Regions from separate parts of the Homo sapiens genome. Here all the other regions are linked to region 4. The links are contacts of gene promoters, found by promoter capture Hi-C in blood cells and fetal thymus (Javierre and others, 2016). All regions are on one chromosome and are shown on one strand. The core of a region is centred on a gene start or on the middle of the fragment in contact, and the rest is flanking DNA. Distances in the headings are between cores, read along the strand shown. Region 1 overlaps FBXW7 (F-box and WD repeat domain containing 7). Region 2 overlaps FBXW7 (F-box and WD repeat domain containing 7). Region 3 overlaps FBXW7 (F-box and WD repeat domain containing 7). Region 4 holds the start of PRSS48 (serine protease 48).

Evidence for each region. The method cuts DNA at HindIII sites, captures the fragments that hold promoters and counts their contacts. A CHiCAGO score of 5 or more calls a contact.
Region 1: a contact is called between a fragment that was not itself captured here and the fragment with the promoter of PRSS48 in region 4, in 1 of 17 cell types (fetal thymus). The highest score is 7.0, in fetal thymus.
Region 2: a fragment that was not itself captured here is called in contact with the fragment with the promoter of PRSS48 in region 4 in 1 of 17 cell types (fetal thymus); the score reaches 9.3 in fetal thymus.
Region 3: a fragment that was not itself captured here is called in contact with the fragment with the promoter of PRSS48 in region 4 in 1 of 17 cell types (fetal thymus); the score reaches 5.0 in fetal thymus.

What each region holds. Positions count from the first base shown.
Region 1 is chr4:152,371,933-152,374,632 of GRCh38, forward strand. The region is part of intron 4 of FBXW7 (F-box and WD repeat domain containing 7); the gene reads right to left. Among named protein-coding and RNA genes, the nearest start is that of FBXW7-AS1, 36 kb to the left of the region's middle. The HindIII fragment of the contact is 1,843 bases long and covers 330-2,172 here.
Region 2 is chr4:152,390,119-152,392,818 of GRCh38, forward strand. The region is part of intron 4 of FBXW7 (F-box and WD repeat domain containing 7); the gene reads right to left. Among named protein-coding and RNA genes, the nearest start is that of FBXW7-AS1, 54 kb to the left of the region's middle. The HindIII fragment of the contact is 2,255 bases long and covers 272-2,526 here.
Region 3 is chr4:152,409,632-152,412,331 of GRCh38, forward strand. FBXW7 (F-box and WD repeat domain containing 7) reads right to left here. Exons shown (of 14, transcript NM_001349798.2): 4 at 1,672-2,241. The coding sequence starts at 2,172. Among named protein-coding and RNA genes, the nearest start is that of FBXW7-AS1, 73 kb to the left of the region's middle. The HindIII fragment of the contact is 8,756 bases long and covers 1-2,700 here.
Region 4 is chr4:151,275,807-151,278,506 of GRCh38, forward strand. It overlaps PRSS48 (serine protease 48), which reads left to right and starts at 1,355. Exons shown (of 5, transcript NM_183375.5): 1 at 1,355-1,418. The coding sequence starts at 1,367. All of the region lies in intron 1 of SH3D19 (SH3 domain containing 19), which reads right to left. The HindIII fragment of the contact is 6,829 bases long and covers 1-2,700 here.

The DNA of each region.
Region 1 (2,700 bases), core at 1-2,500, 1.1 Mb after region 4:
ATTCATCTTTGTAACAGTAGCAACACACACAGAGAGTATGCATACTATATATCAGCAGATTAAAATTAATTTTGTGGTGTTAATTTCCCATGGAAATACTGGGACAATTAAAAAAAATGTGGTTGAGGTTCTCTACACTCATTTAAAGAATAAGTCTATTAGCATGAGCTGTATTTTAATCACTGAAGAAAAGTAATATAAAAGCTCCAAACTATCATTGTATTATATGGTTATAATAGCCTATAATTAGGTTAATAAACTTTAGGTACTCATCTATATATGTATGTTTTAAAGTATTTAATATGCATGTACTCAGAGACTTAAGATAAAGCTTAGACTACTCTGACATTTCAAAGTGTGTTCAGTTTTTTATGAGTGGGTGACAGTTGTAAAACTCTAAGGTCTCTGGATTTAGTTCCATGCTCTTGGAGACAGCTGTGTTCCTAAATTCAGAATATTTTGAATTGTAGAAAGGTAACAGAGTGCATATACTATTTATTACAGAGCACTTCCAGTATATCACACATTAGTGTTTCTCCAGCAAAATATATGAATATTCAGATAAATAATAAAGATGACTGTTTTATGTTAGTTTGGGTTAGGTTTTGCTACCTTTATTTTTAAATTTTCAGTTTTCAGAGCATGATGGATTTCTGCTTTGCAGACAAGGGACTGTGGACTTATTTCACACTTGTTTACCTTGCCAGGAGCTTAGTTCCAAGTTTATTTTTAGCATATTTTTCATCTGTCTTCTATATTACAAGCCTCAACATTAAGTTAGTTTCTGTAAAACCTAACTTAGTTTATATTTACAAATTTAAATAGCCTTGCCCTTTGATGTCAAAATTATACAAATTGTTACCTAATTAAAAATTTGTTACATAAAAGACAAAATCATACAAGTTGTTTCCATAGTGTAGTTACAGATTTATAAATCATGTGCTAAGTCGCTTTGTACTCCTATCTGACAACTAGGGCACAACCCAATACTAAAACATCATCTGATGACAAAAACATACAGAAGGCAGTATTATCAGTAATTAGATATTGAGACCATCATAAATTGTTGGGAAAGGTGAGAATTACACATTTAAAATTCCAAGATTATATGGCAAAAGTTAACCCTTAAAACATTTGGACACTAAGGGTCTGTTCAACAAATGCCTACTCCAGATCCGTTTCCTGCAGTGGCTGTGATGCTGGAATAAGACTGCTTGAGTTAGTGTCCTAGCTACATTACTTACTAGCTAAGGGGCAAGAACCTTCCTATGCCTGAGATTCCTCACGTGTAAAACAGGTAAAATACAATACAACGTACTTCACAAGGTGATTTTAAGGATTAAATGAGTTTATGTATAGAAAGTAACTAGAGTAGTGCCTCTTCTACATCCCAAATCATACCTTATTCTATTACCCTATTTTACTGTCATCAAAATATTAACAGTAGTATTTATTTTCTGTCTCCCCAAACTACAATCTAAGCTCCATGAGGGCATGGCCTTTGTCTATCAAGTTCACTGTTATATCTACAGTTTCTAGGAAAGTTCTCTACTCTAGGTGCTCAATACGTATTTTTTCAACATTAATAAATTGACGGCAAGATGTAATTTGCAGCAGTATACTTAATATGAAAAAACATAAGACAAGACACGATCCCAAGCAATGATACAAGTTCCCTCTATCACTCCTCTGATCACCTACTTAGCAAACATCTTCATGTTTTAATTCAGGGTTACTGTGAAGCCCTTCCTGAACCACTCATATTGAGCTCTGAGTGCCTCCTCATACTCTGACAGTACTTTGTACGTAGGTCCATTTAAGCAGTTATTATTTTGTACTATAATGGTTTGTTTGTAGTTTTATCACTGTGACTTTTCATTTGTGCATGGGCATGGGGGATCATCATCTTATTTATAGCCGGTGGCTTGCACAGCACAGAGAATGCAAAGAAAACCGACAATTACATTGCTTACTCATGTTGATGCATGATGTGTGAAACATTCTTAAAGAGAAAAAGACCAAAGGATCTAAAATAGAATGGTCTGATATGTGATAACTGACAGTAATTAATGCCTTTATTGATAAAGTAAGTAGTGACCATAAAAAACACCAAAGGATCTGGAAATGTTTATATTTTCCAAGTACCAATGGAAGATATATGCAAGTAAGAGAAGCTTAGAAAGCCACATTTTAGTTTCCTCACTCAAAAACAAACAAACAAAAACAAAACAAACCAAAAAAACCCCACCACAAAACAGGTACCCTATTAAATTCCCTCTCTAAATTTGCTCATACCACCACCCTATTCTTTCTTCTCTTCAAAGTACTGTATTTTTTTTCTCTATTTCAGCATTTTCTGATATTTAGGAGCTACTCTAGACTCCCAAAAGTACCACCTAAATGACTATACCATGTGTGTTTCTTTTTCATTTTCAAAATTAGTACATAGTAATTACTTTTAAAATTAAGTGTCAAACTGTATCTGAGTTTCGTTAAATTTAGAAAATGAAATATTCAAAATCACAGCTGCACAGTCACTTAAAAACATTTAGTAAACAAAAACAAGCCACATTCTTACAGCACAAAAATTCCTTAAGGATTTTTCCAAGTTTAACAGACACTTCAATGAATCAGCCATAGAAATATTTATACTAACTTTCTCCTGCATATCTCTGGAAGCATAAAAAGGTATTAAAAATA
Region 2 (2,700 bases), core at 149-2,648, 1.1 Mb after region 4:
TTTCCTCTCCTACCTACTGTAGTGGTCTAAACACTAGCATATAGAGTATATTTGACTTTTTTTTTTTAATGAGTAAACTTTGGATTTTATTTCTATTATTTGTGCCTAAGAACTTTAGTTGTTAAAATACTTTTCCTCATCCTTTCATTAAGCATTTTAAAAAGTACTTAAGATAAAACAAAAATCCAACTATCCCACTGAATTTTCTAAGTATTTCAGAAATGCCCAGTATGAAGTCTTCAATGACTTAACATAACCTGTCTCATGATTAAGCTTAACTCTTACAGGCTGAGCTGGGTTACCCCAGCTGTTAAAATGGCCTTACACAGCTGCTCACCAAGAATTTAGTTCGTGATTATTATAGTTACACCTTTAAGTCAACTATGACAAAAATGACACAGTAATTACAGGTATTTCAGTCATGCAAAAAGCCTCATGTAATGACAGAGTAAGTGATTTAAAGTAACCTAATTTTCCATAATTCTCAAAATAAAATTTAAGTCTAAGAAAGACAATAACTTCTTTAATGTCAGTACTTAAGTCCATAAACAGTTTAAACATAACAGTTTAAACTTTCAGTTAAAATAAATTAAACATTACTTACCAATAATATCTTTCTCTTATAAAAATTCTTAAGAGTATTGCAGGCCAGGGAGTCATAATACTAATTATACTAATAATTAGGACTAAGGAAATAATACTAATATTCTTTTAAAATACAGTAAGTAATTGTGTGTTTTTTTGCTACACAGCTTTAAAAAATTAAGCTATAATGCAGAAGGCTCAACCAAATTGACAGTTTGACAAATTATAAAAATTTATCTTATGAAAAATAAAAAGCTACACTTATGGAAACATAAAAAATCTGAAGGAGTGCTGGTGCTTTAAATAGGTAAAATAGGAGGGGGACATTATTTCCTATACTGTTGAGTTTCTGATGCAATTATAAATAAAAATCAATATATTTTGAGAAAGATAAACATAGTACCATACTTCATTTATATAATTTTCAGTAATGTGCTATGCAAGTATGTGAGATTTATTAATATTAACTGAAAGTACTTCAGCACAGAATTTAAGTATAGAATTAAAGTACAGAAAACAAGTATAAGATTAAGCAATAGAAAATACATATTTAGAACTTAATTCTTGGACGGGCTGACAGTTGATACCACTGGCCTTTTACGCTGTCAATATTACATACTCAAAAAAATAATTTTTCTGAAAAATATCAATGTTATTTTTTGTAGCTGAGGTTTAAATTAAGCTGAGAGCCTAAGTTTTCATTCTTTACAGTAAGTAAAACACTAACTGGCTATCAAGAAAAATTAGAAACAAAGAAATAAAATTCAATTCCTACTATTCTTTAGTATGCCTGTAATACAAAGATCTTGGGATAGAAAGATAAATAAGTCTAAGGAGACTATCAGAGATCAGTAAGAGATATAAAGGAAGTCTGCAGCTATAGGGCTTAGAAAATACGTACGCATTGTTTCAGACTGGAACAATGATAAGGGGAAGAGATTAAACACTGACAAGAGTTTCTACTAGATCATGCTTTGTATCACTTAATCACCACGCCGAAACCCTGAGGTATCATTATCCTTGTCTACTTGTTACAGACAAAACTAAGGCTCAGAAAGGCTTACAAATTTGCCCAAGGTAACACAGCTGCCAGGTAGTAGAGTTGAGATTTTAACCCTGGTATGTCTAATTCCTAAACCTGTGCTTTGTAACAGAACATCTATCCAATTCCACAGAATGTTACATCCTAACTTAGTTGTGTTACTTCCTAAATTAGTTGTTCGGAGACACTTCTTTGTCAGTGTTTCAGATATGTAAGTTTGTCAGATATAAATGAGTTCTAGATAACTGAAATAAAGTATTGTATAAGACATTTACATATTAAATATGGAATGTTTTAATGTGCCTGATTTTTATGAAGCCCAAATTTAAAAAAAGAAACAGGAATAACATCAAAGATATTATGAACTCTTATAGCAAATTGTATTCTCAAAGGTAGTCACAACGCTGTCCCCCATCTTGCATGCTCTTCTTGCAAGGTGACTCTGAGACTCCTTTCACTAAGAGGGAGAGGCCATGTCCTCTTGCCTTAATAACAGGCCAGACCTTTGTGACTGTTTGGACCATTAGAGATAGTAAAAATGGTATCATGTGACTTCACAGGCTGAGTCATAAAAAGGAGATTCAGCTTCCACCTTGCTTGCTGGAACACTCACTTGGTAGTCCTGATGTGCTGGCTAAGTAGTACCTTCAGGCCACCATGCTCTGAAGAAGCCCAAACTAGCCCAGGTAAAAAGACCGTATTATATAGAGATGTTAGGAGATGATACGGAAAAAGAATTTCTGGGTCAGCCCTCAGCTGTTCTAGACCCCCACTTTTGCACCTCCAGCCATGATCTGACTGCCACCCAGAGTTAACAATGGCCAGATCAGCCCTCCTCAAATTACAAACCTATAAGAACAATGAGAAATAATAAAATTCTCGTTTGTTATAATCCACAAAGCTTTGACGGTGATTGGTCAGGTGACAATGGATAACCGAGACATCTTATAAAACAAGGAGCTCTAAGTTGGTTTATAGTCATCCTAGTGGAGTGTTAATTTTACAATGTAACAGGAATGGAAAGGACAACAGGTGATTCAAAATGAAAACGTTAAGTGATCATCTTGAGGATG
Region 3 (2,700 bases), core at 119-2,618, 1.1 Mb after region 4:
TATTCTTCATGCCATACTTACGAAGGCAGATCATCTCATGATCAACAATATATCAAAAACTATACATACACACTTATATAATAAATGCATACACACATCTATACTGTACATGTGTATATACATAAATGCATACACACATCTATACTGTACATGTGTATATACATAAATGCATACACACATGTATTCCTTCTATGGTTAGAGCCCAGTCCATTCTTGTTATATGTACAGGACAATAATTGTTATTCATGATTCAGAATCACTAGAAAAAAACTAACAAATTCAGTATACTTCGTTTTTAAAAAGGTAATCATCATACACAAAATTTTACATCTTGAAGGTAAAGAAAAGATAAAGCACCTGTCAAACTTGTGAACTGGAAGGTTTCCTACAGAATATAAGGATGACTTTTCCTTTTGGAAAAAGATAATGTTTTGTCTAACTAGCTTTTTTTGCTTTTAATTTAAAGTGTAGCAGAAATCAGCAATAACTCTGCATTGTTCCGCAAGGCTTAGTTTTGATTGAACCTCTTTCTGAAATAAGTTAGTGCAATTGGACCTTAAGTATTAAACCCCTATTCCTCTAACTGAACCCTCAGGAAAAAAAGAGATGTTAAAACTCCCTTTTGATATAGCAACCTTGAAGAAGATGATCAAGACTAGGGGGGCAAAAGGGAGGAATGACACTATAAAAGGTCTGAGCCTTAACAAAGTGGTGCTATAGTTGTTAGTGGTAGAGCCATCTGGCTGAGATCCAAAGCTACTGCTTCAACATCTTGAGACAGGGATGGTACAATGGATGAAAAATCACTACTTGATGTCACGTCCTTCTTAGATCATGCCAGCTAAATAAAATCTGACTTGCAGATAGGCTAGGTAAATTAGGGCCAAACACATTTTAGAAAGTAAGGTTTTACAAGCAGATGTAAAACATGATTTAGCATTTCAATTATTATTAATCCAAGTGTGTAAGATACTTCATTCCAAGTCAAGTTAGGTTAAACGATACGATGTTAAATCAGTTTGTATATTGTTTATGGCCTAAAATCACTGTAAAATGTAAGAAATAAGCAAGTAGGAGTAAGAGGATGAACTACCACAGACATTATGTTAATGTCTATAAAACAAGTATATTCAAGTTAAAATGTTCCTTTCCAAAACATAGTTTAACTTGTAAGTCTACTCTACATGAATATTCATTATTTCTAATTCTCAAATGATAAATAACTAGAACTAATTTGAGGCAACTTCTGAGTAATTTATGCCTTAGAGTGACACTTGTGAATAGCCCACTCTAGCAGCTGCATTTTGTAAATAAAAAGTTTCTTCATTACTTGATTTACACAAATCATGTTTCACCCGAAACCTCTACACCCCACACAAGCTACTAATCCCTGCCCGGGACGCAAGGTTTAGACGAAAATTTGATGTTAATAATTTTTCATAGTAATAGGCTCAATTACTTTCCCTCCATTTGTACTCAGATTGTCCCATTATCAGTATTTCTACTTGTAATACTTTCCATTACCTTCTGTAAGACAAAAAACTAGTTCATTTTATTATTACACATCTTAAGATTAATTTTTAGTAATACAAAGACTGTGAGGAAAGTTTCATTACAATTAAAATAGATATGTAAAGTTTCTCAGGTTAACAATATATTGAATATACTCACTTTTGTTGTTTTTGTATAGAATGGGGAGGAGAGTTGGTGAACGGGCAGGTCCACAATACTACTGGAGTTCGTGACACTGTTAGTATGTGTATGTTCATCTTCTCTGCTACTATCATCAGACTGATCAAAATCGTCACTCTCCTGGTCCATCTCCTCCTCCTCCTCATCCTCCTCATCTTGTTCACCAGCATGTTCTTCATCTTCCTCTTGTTCTTCTTGGTTTCCTGAGGAGTCCTCATCTACCGAAATAAATCTATTATTGTTTTCTTCCAACTGTCCTTGCTGGGAATCATTTTGGCCTCCAGGTCTAGGTTCTACTCCAACAACTTCACCATTCCTTGCAGTGTGCTCCTCCTCTTGTTGTCTGAGTTGCTGTTGCTGTTCCTCCTCTACCACACGATTCATCTGTTCTTCATCTACCTGGCTTGAGGAAGGGTTACCTCTCAGAGAGCCTCCAGTTCGTCGTCTTTTGCTGCCCACAGAGAGCAGTTCCTGATTCATTTCCAAAAGCCAGCTTGCTACTTCTTGGACCTTGGCTAGACTATCAGAAGATGCAAAGGTTTTCACATTCTGCAGGGGAAAATAGGGTAAAAAACAAGATTTGTACAATCTATATTATGTTCTACTTTCATGTTATATGTCTACTTTCTAAATATCATTAATGATTGCAAAAAAGTATTGATGCCACCAAGGCATTAAAATGTTCTTTAGTAAACAATATAGAACATTTCAATTTTAAAAGTTATAAGACTTTATAAAGACATGCACAAAAACCATAGTAAACAACACTAATCCCTTTTAATAATTTTTAGCATGAAGATTTATAGTTTAATTCCTTTGACCAATAAAACATAATATTTCAAGCAAATAAAACAATTTTAATTTTACATCAGTAGTTCATAGACTATATCCTATATAAAACTTCCACAAAATTTTAAGAAGTGTATCAAAAAAAATTTTCAGTGTTCAGTTAATTTGGGAAATGCTGAGGTAAATCAGATTAAAAGGCTTTTTACCCTGGGTATTTCC
Region 4 (2,700 bases), core at 105-2,604:
TACCACGCCCAGCCACTTCTATTATTATTATTATTATTATTATTTTTTTTTTTTTAGACGGAGTCTCGCTCTGTCGCCCAGGCTGGAGTGCAGTGGCGCCATCTTGGCTCACTGCAACCTCCGCCTCCCGGGTTCAAGCGATTCTCCTGCCTCAGCCTCCCGAGTAGCTGTGACTACAGGTGCACGCCACTACACCCAGCTAATTTTTGTATTTTTAGTAGAGACGGGATTTCACCATGTTGGCCAGGATGGTCTCAAACTCCTGACCTCAGGTGATCCACCCGCCTCGGCCTCCCAAAGTGCTGGGATTACAGGCATGAGCCACCGTGCCTGGCCTATTAGTTTTAAACTGCTTATATGTTTCTTTCAAGCATCCCAATATTTTAAGTTGCAAGAGAGCAGTAACATTTTAATAGTTCATTGAATTCTGCCTCCACAGACCTAGCACCCTACAAACAATTGGCACAGAAAACAAAAGGCAGAGTGAAGATTTCTGAGGTAGATGTTGTGGTGTACCATCCAGACCCCCCTTTAGAACTGAAGCATTCATTCCCTTAGCAGCTAGGAGTGTTGGCTGCTGACAGTTCACAGCTAAGTCTTATTCCAAGAACTGCCAACAGAGCCACCTCACCCAAGGTAATGCCCCCTCCTAGGAGGTGGCCTGCATCCAATGATGCAGACCCCTAAGAACGCATCCTTCTTAGCTCAGTACAGAAAGTCTCTGAGGGCCACCTCAGCTCCAGAGAAACTTGTGAGATAGGCTGTGGCCTCTGTTGCAAACGCATCACAGTTCAACTCTCCCTCTAACCAATCCTACTACCCACCCAAGAGCTGCTGATCCTGAGACCACTCTAAAATAAATTTCCTGCACACAAATCTCTGTCTTAGAGTCTGTTTCCCAGGAAACTTGACTTGCAGTGCAGCTAACACTGTAACAGAAATGAAAACAAACAAACAAAAAAACTCAGAAAAATTAACCAGATACTGGGTTCATTTCCTCTTTTCCATTTCTTGCTTTTGGAGAATCCTGTCCACCTTCTATCTCCTTGCTAGAGACAGGGTCCTGTTTCTTCCAGTGCCCTCAACCAGCCACTCCTCAACACCACAGGCAGAAACCCCAGAAACCCTGCTCTCCCAGGACAGCAGGGGGCGCCACAGACCCCAGTTCCTCCCCTGGGTCCTGCAGCTGCACTTCTGAAGTCTGGTCCCTTCAGGATCTGGCAGCGGGTGAAGACCAAAGGAGAGGAGGGGGTGAAGCAGAGGAATCCATCTAGGAGAAGCTAGTTCTGGCAGCTCCCCATTGGCCTCTTCCTGGGAGCCTGAGTCCAGGAAGCAGGAAGCGCTCACTGGCTCTGAGGACAGAGACATGGGCCCTGCTGGCTGTGCCTTCACGCTGCTCCTTCTGCTGGGGATCTCAGGTGAGCGCCAGGGTGGGGTTGAGAAGGCAGAGGCAGAGGATTTTTACTAAAGAGGGCATCACATAGAACAATGTGACACTTCACCCATGGGATGTTAGTTATGAGTAGCACAGCCTGAGAAGGTCCTGAGAGGCTACTATATACCCAGCACCATTCCAATGCTCCCGATTGGAAATAGCAGTACACACACACACCCACAAGATCCCTATCTTCGTGGGACTTATAATCAATGCACATATTAAATGTGTAAATTATAAGGCTTGTTAGAAGGTAATAAGTACTATGAAAGGAAAGGGGCATCTGAAGTACAGGGGCAGGAGTGTTGCAATCTTTAGAAGGGTAGTTAAAGAAGGCCTCACTAAGAAGGAGTCATTTGAGCAGAACTGAAGGGGATAACTAAATTAAGTAAGAGGATCCAGGAAAAGAGCATCTCAAGCAGAGGGAACTGGAAGAGCAAACACTATTCTATGATTTCAGGTATATGCTTGTTCATTTATTTTTCTGGTCCACAGGGATTTAAAGGAAGGGTATACTGGCCAGGCACAGCAGCTCACGCCTGTAATCCCAGCACTTTGGGATGCCAAGGCGGGCAGATCACCTGAGATCAGGAGTTCAAGACCAGCCTGGGCAACATGGTGAAACCCCATCTCTACAAAAAATACAAAAATTAGCCGGGCGTGGTGGCGGGCACCTGTAGTCCCAGCTACTCAATAGACTGAGGCAGGAGAAGTGCTTGAGCCTGGAAAGTGGAGGTTGCAGTAAGCCGAGATAGCGCCACTGCACTCCAGCCTTAGCGACAGAGTAAGACCCCGTCCCCCCAAAAAACAGAAAGGGTATGCTGAGAGAGCAAAAAACTTAACAGGTAGCAAAGAAGAAAGATACACAAATACTGCAAAATGCCAATTCAGTTAAACCAAATAGCACAAAAGTAAACAGCTTGCAACCTCAACCGCATCTGAGGGCATCATTGTATTTATAAACTAACATACTTCATATTCCTGATGGTGACCTTGAATCAAGTAAAAGCTAAATTTGAATCTTCATAGAGCATTTTTTTTTTAAGAGACAGAGTCTCACTCTGTCACCCAGGTTAGAGTGCAGTGGTGCAATCATAGCCCACTGCAACCTCAGACTCCTGGGTTCAAGCAATCCTCCCACTCAGCCTCCCTAGTAGCTGGGACTACAGGTGTGGTTGAACCACACCTGTTGTGTTTGTGGCCCAAAAGAAGAAAAAAAAAACCCTGACTAGTATTTAGGAAGTGATTTGTGAAAAGTAAGAAAA